Linked DNA regions of Homo sapiens: regions 1 and 2 are each linked to region 3. Evidence: promoter capture Hi-C in human tissues and cell types (Jung and others, 2019). All regions are on one chromosome and are shown on one strand. The core of a region is centred on a gene start or on the middle of the fragment in contact, and the rest is flanking DNA. Distances in the headings are between cores, read along the strand shown. Region 1 overlaps LOC105370362 (a long non-coding RNA gene). Region 2 has its middle 4.6 kb from the start of NAXD. Region 3 holds the start of CARS2 (cysteinyl-tRNA synthetase 2, mitochondrial).

The links. The method cuts DNA at HindIII sites, captures the fragments that hold promoters and counts their contacts. A contact is called where the count stands out against the background at its distance.
Region 1: a fragment that was not itself captured here is called in contact with the fragment with the promoter of CARS2 in region 3 in 10 of the 25 tissues and cell types used here (IMR-90 fibroblasts, bladder, dorsolateral prefrontal cortex and 7 more).
Region 2: a contact is called between a fragment that was not itself captured here and the fragment with the promoter of CARS2 in region 3, in 7 of the 25 tissues and cell types used here (IMR-90 fibroblasts, aorta, dorsolateral prefrontal cortex and 4 more).

The regions. Positions count from the first base shown.
Region 1 is chr13:110,814,245-110,817,207 of GRCh38, forward strand. The region is part of intron 1 of LOC105370362 (a long non-coding RNA gene); the gene reads left to right. Among named protein-coding and RNA genes, the nearest start is that of LINC00567, 2.6 kb to the left of the region's middle. RefSeq lists an enhancer at 1,599-2,122. The HindIII fragment of the contact is 5,787 bases long and covers 1-2,963 here.
Region 2 is chr13:110,609,460-110,612,441 of GRCh38, forward strand. No RefSeq gene overlaps it. Among named protein-coding and RNA genes, the nearest start is that of NAXD, 4.6 kb to the right of the region's middle. RefSeq lists enhancers at 854-1,354, 1,355-1,855. The HindIII fragment of the contact is 4,503 bases long and covers 1-2,982 here.
Region 3 is chr13:110,704,651-110,707,372 of GRCh38, forward strand. CARS2 (cysteinyl-tRNA synthetase 2, mitochondrial) reads right to left here and starts at 1,466. Exons shown (of 15, transcript NM_024537.4): 1 at 1,220-1,466; 2 at 871-921. The coding sequence starts at 1,443. RefSeq lists a silencer at 1,274-1,833 and enhancers at 1,884-2,263, 2,274-2,393. The HindIII fragment of the contact is 14,015 bases long and covers 1-2,722 here.

The DNA.
Region 1 (2,963 bases), core at 348-2,847, 110 kb after region 3:
GCTCTAGAGCAAGTGAGCTGTGGGTGGAGGCCAGGGAATGTACCTGGATCATGGGAGAGACGTGCTATCCCTCTACCATATTCTGTGGATCAGAAGCAAGTCACAGATCCCCCCACATCAAGGAGAGAGGATTTCAGCAAGATATGAACACACTAGGAGGTGGGGACCCTGGTGCCACCTTAGTGTCTGTCCAGCAGAGGGACCAATTCCCAAATGAATGCATGCACAGCCGCACACACTAATCCCAAACAACAGCAACACAGTCATGTGGTCAACAGTGTTTTTATTTTATTATTTTATTTTATTTTATTTATTAAGTGCTAGGCACTGGAAACATAGCAGTGAAGAAAAAGAAAAATCCCCGTCCTCATGAAGCTTAGATGACGCTGGCGCACACTAAATCCACCAACAGCGGTCACAGCTGTAGCGTCTACATGGTTGCGATGCTTAATTTTATGTGTCCATGTGGCTGGGCCCAGACGTGAAGTCAAACCTCATTCTGGATGTCCCTGTGAGGATGTTTTTGGATGAGATGAACATTTAAACCCGTGCACTTTGAGTAAAGCAGATGGCCCTTGCTAGTAGGTGGGCCTCCCCGGGTCAGCTGAAGACCTGAATGGAACAGAGACTGACCTCCCTGAGCAAGCAGGGGCTGCAGACACGGTCTTCCTGGGGTCTCCAGCCTGCTGGCCCACCCTGCAGATTTCAAATTTACCAGCCTCCATAGTCACCTGAGCCAATTCCTTAAAAGTAATCTCTCTATATATACATATACACATATCCTGTTGGTTCTGGTTTTTTGTTTGTGTTTCCTTCTAGAGAACCTGCTATTACAGTGGTGTATATGCATTCCATTCCATGATGGGTAATATAGTAAGAGACAGCTTTTATTAGTTTTCCTTCCAAATATTCAATGTGTTAATATGCTCAAAACCCTTAATTCAATTCTCTGAATCCTTCTAATTGGGGATGGGGTAATGTTTGCAGAAGAAAGTCCACCTAGAGGATCGTTTTGTGGAGGGCTTTGTGTCTGAGAAGGGGCTTCCTTGCCGTAGCATCTGCCCTCCTGCTGCTCACATCTGAAGCTTTCTTTTCTGTCAGCTGCTCCTAGGTATCTGATCTTTCCGGCCTCTGCGGTTTTTTTTTTTTTTTTTTTAATTTTTCCCTCTTTTTCCCAGCCTCAAACCTGTCATCTGCATCTTTCCTTCTTTAACCACTGAGCCAGGTGCTCTAAGGCTTTGGGCTCCTTGGTACTTTACGATTCACCCCCGCCCTGGGGCCGGACAGCCTTGGAGAATTTCCAGAAGGGAAAGTCTTCTGGTAACCAGATAATTCTTTCAGAAGTAGGTGTGTTTTTGCAACATTAGTCAATATCTCACGTCCTGCAAGGGACTTTCCATCGATTCCTTTTGAGAGGCCTGTAGGGTAGGTTACGGTTAAGAAGGCTTTTCAGAACAGTGTGAAGGAAGGAATGGCAAGTGCATTTCATGGCCTCGTAACCCTTCTGTGTCCTTGTTGGTGAAAAGAGAGGGTGGAGCTTTATTCCTGAGCGCCAGGTGCCTTTCCCTGTGGTCACAAACGTGTAAATGGATACATTTCTATTTGCTTAAGGAACAAATATTGCTGTGGGAAGTGACTAAATAGCTTCCCAGAAGCAGCGGTCATGGGGCCTTTGGACCAGCTGGGCATCTTCTAATCAAGGCAGGAGGGGGAATGATGCAAAAACAAGATGGGTCTATGCTGGAACATTTCCACCGTCAAATTCACCAAAAATGTGTGGCAGGCTCACTCCCCAAGCCACAAAGCTCTGATTCACAGACACTCCTGGTACACGAACAGCAGGGGCCCCATCATCTGCCATTCACTCTGATGTTGACTTTGAAACCAGTCTGTGTGGCCACTTCCAGCTTGAAAGGCCTTGATCAATTTACCCAACCTCCCTGCCGCCTCAGTTCTCTCATCTGCAGAATGGAAATGTTGCAGCAGCTCCTTCCAACAACCCCTTGGAAAGGCAGGGAGGAAGGCCAGTTGTCACCTGCGACAACTGTTCCCACTGTGATGTTCCCACTGTGATGTTTGCCTTGACAGGGTGGTATTGCCACATTTCAGGGTCTGGCTTCAATTTTGTAGGCCCAGGAAGTCAGTAGATAATATAGAATAATTGATCAAGCACCTAAGAATGGCTGCTAAAAGAACTCACAAGAATCTGAAGTGAGTATTAATTTACAGCAAGAACTGTAACCAACTGGACAGGACAGAAGCGGCCGGGGCTCCCCTGCTCCTTCTTTAAAGGCAAAGCTATACGCAGGGCCAAATGATCATTGCCGTGGGATTGGAGTTTGCTTGCTGGGTGTGAGTTGGGTGGAGGTGGGGCTGAGGCTGGACAACACTGATGGCAGTGGTCCCTCTACAAGAACCGAGGCTTCTGTGGCACTGTGAGGAGGCCCTTACAGGCTTGGCAGGTCCCATGAGAGTCCCTGCCAGTGGCCTGGCTGGCAGCTCCCCCTCTTGCTGCTTCCCACAACCACATGCCCCAAAGTCCACAGTCATTACTAAGGTGTAGCAAGGAAAATAAGACCATAGGCTTGGAAAAGATAAAAATAGCAACCAGTGACACCAGACCCAAAAGCCCTCAAGGATACCAATTAATCCCCTTAAAAGTAGTCTTCATCAGCCTCTTCTTCCTCTTCTTGTACAGCAAATGTTTCCTCAAGGATCAACACTAAAGAAAAATAATACATAATTCTTACTAAATGTTTTATTATTGTTCCCCTTATGTTGGAAATAGATTATACATATAAAAGAGTACATAAAATTTGCATATCTGTTTAAGGAAAAAGAATAAGGACAAACACCTGCATATGCACCCCCGGGTGACATGCCCCTACCTGTGGGCACCCTGACCTGCCCCTGCACAGGAGGCACCACCTGCAGGGTATGCAACAATTCCTGTGCTTTTCCTG
Region 2 (2,982 bases), core at 425-2,924, 95 kb before region 3:
TATTTATTCTATGCCTAGATACTAAATAATTTAAAGGTTTAATTTTTTTTCTATCATTTGCAAAACTAGGCAGGGCTTGTGACCTTTTTGTTTAAAATGTTTTTAGCTCCTTGCGTTTGTTGTGCCTCCAGAATTTGAACTATACAATCCCTCCAGGCCCAGCATAAGATTGTAAGGGCCAATTCTGAGGAATAAAATTAATTCAGATCCTCCAACTGAATTAATGGATTCAGTCATTAATGGTCACAGAGATGCCTCAGCAGCTTAACAAAATGCTTGTGTTTTGTATAGCTAATTGCTACAAACCAGATTATGGTGGCTCAATGCACATAATTTATAAATAAGTCAATTATGTTACCTTGTCTTTTGGCTTTTGGTTTTTGGTTCTTATGTTGCTTAAAAGAGATTCGAAGGTTAATGAGTGCCTGCGCACTTCCATTCCATTTGGCTTAGAATAATTAATTGGTTATAAGTCTTTTGACTCTAAGTCCCTTAGCCGTAGGGGTCCCACTGAGGGACATGATAGACCTGGCACAGGTAGCACCCCCCCCCCCCCCCCCCCCCCCCGGCATCAATATGGGACAAAATAAAAGCTTGGCCATTGACACTGCCTCTGGCATACCTTTACAAAAAGCGGACTATAAACTAAAAAAAATCTGCATCCTCCCTAGTAGAATGGACACGCCTCTTGCCCAAAGGGGATCCAATTAAAAAAAAAAAAAAAACCTGAAAAACTAGTTCAGGCCATGATGGAAAGCTGGGGGTCAGACACGCCTCACTCCACTTTCCCCCATGCCTTGGAATTCAGGCACAAATGACCAGGCAAAATGCCTTTGCACCCTCGAAAAGAAAAACCCTCCTGCTGATTTTATGTGGGATGCTGTTAAAGCTGCTGTACCTTCTAGTACCTGGTTTTTACCACTTTTGGGCCCGTTAAGGGTGAGCTCATCGTTAATATTTGGCCCATGCATATTCAACTTGCTTGTAAAGTGCCTGTCTCTGGTTACAGCAGATCTAGGTAAAGGTGATCTTCAAGCTAGGGTTCCAGCTGCTTCCTGTCTTGGAATCAGACGCTCCTGCTGTCCCCTGGGGACCCTTAGATCAAGCAGCTGGAGATTCCCATGCCCTCGGTAGGCAGGGCCAGTGCTCTTAAATCAGCAGGAAGATGACACGGAAGACTGACCTCCTCCCTCATCTCCCTCAAGAATAAGGGATGGAATGGCTGAGCACGGTAGGTGGCTCATGCCTGTAATCCCAGCACTTTGGGAGGCCAAGGTAGGCAGATCGCTTGAGCTCAAGAGTTTGAGACCACCCTGCACAACATGGCAAAAACCCATCTCTACCAAAAATACAAAAATTAGCCGGGCGTGGTAGCACACACCTGTGGTCCCAGATACTCAGGAAGCTGAAGTCTGAGGATCGCTGGAGCCTGGGAAGGGGAGGCTGCAGTGAGCCATGATTATGCCACTGCATCCCAGCCTGGGTAACAGAGTGAGACCCTGTCTCAAAAAAAGAAAGAAAGAAAATAAATAAAAGAAGAAGGGATGGAAATCTCCAAGGGGGAAAATGAAATGGGAATAGCACTGGGTGGTCACAGGAGGATGGAAAAACCCAAACAACAGCTAGAATAAGAACGAGGCAAAGAAACCGCAGGTTAACAGAAAACCCAAAATAAGGAAGAGAAAATGGTCAAATCCTGGTCAGGGTGATATGTCCATGATCCTGGGAAAACTTGAATAAGGGTAAAAGTCTGTGGTAATGGGGGGAGGGAGTCCCTGAAATCACTCCTTTTCCAGAATACCTTATGATTATTCCACCCCCTAATTAAAAAAAAATCCATAAAATTAGAAACTCAAACTCTGATGTGACTCACTCTGCTGAGCACGCCCGCAATTCTCTTTTACGTGTGTGCTTTCGCTTTGCAGTAAAAGCTTCTTGCCTTTCGTTTCATTCTGACGTGTCCCTGAATTCTTTCTCATGCTGGTGTCAAGAACTTGGAAACTGGCTGGGGCTGGGGTCTCAGTGGCATCCAGAGACCCTCCGGAGACCTCCGACAGCTGTAGGTGATTGGGGGCGCCAATCACATAGGGGTCGGAGAGTGATGGAATGCACCTTAATTTTAATCTGAGTGTCATGGAAAACAGTTGGATGGTTCTATGCAGAGGAGTGACATGATCTGACTTATAGGAAAGATCATTCTATTGCTGTAGGAAAGCAGGGAGGTTAATTTATTAACAGAAGGTATTATGGGTTGAGTTGTGTCTCCTCAGAATATGTTAAATCCTAACCCCTAGTACCTGTGACTATAACCGTAACTGGAAGTGAGGTCTTTATAGATTATTGAATTAAGATGAGATGAGATCATTAGGGTGGGCCCTACTCCAATATGACTGGTGTCCTTAAAGGAGAGGAAAATCCCACGTGAGGACAAGGAGACCATCATGTGATGACAGAGGCAGAGGCTGGGGAGGGTGCCAAGGGCATTTTACAGTAAACCTGAAACACTCGTTCAGGCCGAGATGGAAAGGGGGGATGGATGCCTCATTATACCCTCCTCCCTTTGGAATTCAGGCACAGTTGACCAGCATTAACGTTAAAACAGAGACCTTAAGACTGACAAAGCAGAATTTTTGTAGCAATAAGATACCAATGTGACAGATTGCAAGCCCTGAAAGAAACTGGAGTATTTTACCCCAAATATATTCATTTGGCATATTTTGAAATAGCCTTGCAAAACTGTCTCTTTGGGGAAAAACATCTACATTCTGAGGAGACTCCCCTTCCTTTTCCAGGTCTTTTTCTTGATCCAGGAGATAATTTACTAAGAGTCCGGCACCTGAAGTTTGATAAGAAACATTTACAAAGTCCAGGTGAGGTGGGCCACACCTGTAATGCCAGCACTTTGGGAGTCTAAGGCAGAGGATCACTTGAGGTCAGGAGTTGGAGACCAGCCTGGCCAACACAGTGAAACCCTGTCTTTAC
Region 3 (2,722 bases), core at 216-2,715:
CGGCAACTGGACCTGGGAGGCAGAGGTTGCAGTGAGCCGAGATTGCACCACTGCACTCCAGCCTGGGCGACAGAGCGACTCCGTCTCAAGAAAAAAAAAAAGTATACAGAGTAAATGTAACTTTTTACTTTTAGTCTAGGACTGAACAATACTAAGTTTTAAAAAATCTATAATATGTCATTTTTGTACATTATATTTTGGAAATGTACAAAATATTAGGAAAAGTGGTAATTTTGGCAAATGTAGGAGGCAGTACATCTTACAGTTAAAGAGGTCAAGAGAGCAACCACTTCGCAGTCAGAGAAACCAAGCCTCACCCCAGTTCCAATACCTCTTCAATGTGTCATCTTAGGAAAGTTACTCAATCACTATTGAGCCCCGTGACATCTCACATGTGAGGTACAGTGTTAAGCAGCATTTTATGGGCATTATTTACTAAAATTGTTATAAGATCCAAGTTATCATTCCCATCTCAAAGATGAAGAAACCAGGACTCAAAGCAATAAAGTGACCTGCTCAGTGCTGTGAAGCTAAGAAGTGGTGGGGCCCAGGAATGACTGATCAGCAGGACCCCGGGACCCCGCAAAGGCCTCTTGATGTCACTAAACCCAGCAAAAAACATCTAGTTCCAAAACGGGTCATTTTTCAGTGCTCCATTGTCTCCCTGAGTTTCCTCACCTGTAAAACGGGTGTAAGTGCTCAGAATCCCTATAAGAACCAAATGAGGTTGTAACATTTCCCACAATGCCTGGAATGTAGGAATTATTCTGCATCCCTAAGTTGCCACTTAAGAGATAAAAGAAATCAGCAAAAGGCTTTCAAAAATAAATGGTCCTTTGAAGTATGAAAATTCAAATCCAGGAAACTCACCAAGCATGGCCAAGGTGCGCATGATCATATACAGTTGGTCCACAGCTATACCTGGAAACAAAGTTAAAATCCATCGTGTGGAACATATTTGCAAGAAAGGACATTCGATTCTGAGTTATAATGATCATATAATTTTTAAAGTAATCACTTCTGGGGGATGAATAGCCGGGGTTTTCATACTTGCTCAATTCACACCCAAACCTGCAAAAGCACCGCGCACCCCCAGCTTCTAGAACGGCGCCCTCCATGCAGCTTCCTAAACGCCCTCCCCGAGCCCAGATCCCGTTCAGCCGTGGGAAGTCTCCGCCACGATCGGCCCCCGCCCGTGCCCCAGTCCCGCGCGGCCCACCAGGAGGCGGCTTCGGCGTGCGCCACGATTAGGGGTTCCTTCCTCCCGGTGAGGCTGTTGTACACCTGCACACCCGTCTCCCGGCCCGTGGGCTGCAGCCAGGCCCGCCCGCGCCCCCCGCTCGCCGCCCGGCCCGCAGGCCAGTGCCACCCAGCCCGCCCAAGGCCCAGCGCGGCCTGGAGCAGCGGGGGGCCCAGGCCTGGGCCGCGCGTAGTCCTCAACATGTCAGCGGCCAGCGCCTACGACTGGGCGGAGACGGGAGCCACGCCGGGTACGCTGCCGGTCGCTCAAGAGCAGCACGGCCCCGCCCCGCCCCGCCCACGCCCTTGGGGCCACGCCCACTCCCGGAAGCAGTCCTCAGGTAGCGCCTCCCTTTGGCCTGGCTCGAGTCGCCCGCGGCAAGGGTGGAGAACCAGGGCCCGAAGAGGTTGGGGCGGGGAAGGCCCGGGGTGGAGGGAGGAGGGCGGTGCCGCGCCGGGAGGCCGTGGGAAGAGGCGGTACCGTGCCGATCTCCTCTCCTTATTAGCCCAGGTCCTGCGAGGCGTCCGTGTGCGCGCGGTACCAGCCTGGAGCTGTGTCCGCCGCGCGGGAGGAGCGTTTACAGTGCAAGCTTCTGTTGCCGGGCCCTGGCCTGTTAGCGAAGCACGTGTGCATCCCAGCACAGCCCACGTCAGCACGCTAATACACAGTGTCCACCCCAGAACACACGTCAGCACCCCAATACAGTGTGCACCCCAATACAGTGTGCACCCCAAACACACATCTGCGCCCCAATACAGTGTGCACTGCAGCACACCGTTAGCATCCCAACACAGTGCACCCCGATACACAATGTGCAACCCAACACACAGTCTGCACCCCAAGAAGTGTGCACCCCAATACACAGTATGCACCCCAGCACACACATCAGCATCCCAATACAGTGTGCACCCCAATACAGTGTGCACCCCAGCACACACATCTGCACCCCAATAGTGTGCACTGCAGCACACCATCAGCATCCCAACACAGTGCACCCCGATACACAGTGTGCAACCCAGCATACAGTCTGCACCCCAATACACAGTATGCACCCTAGCACACACCACATCAGCATCCCAATACAGTGTGCACTCCAATACAGTGTGCACCCCAGCACACACCATGTCTGCACCCCAGTACAGTGTACACCCCAATACAGTGTGCACCCCTAATACACTGTGCACTCTAACACACACCATGTCTGCACCCCAGTACAGTGTGCACCCCAACACAGCACATGTGCATCCCAGCAAACACTGTCTGCATTCCAATGCAATGTGCACCTCAATAGAGTGTGCGCCCCCACACATCTACACCCCAATACAGTGTGCACCCCAATACACAGTGTGCAACCCAACACACACCATGTCTGCACTCCAATACACAGCATGCCTCCCCCACCATGATCCCGTATCTTGAGAACAAAAACATTCTGAAAGTTACTCACAATAGCTTGACAAACGTGCCTCTATTGGGCCAGGC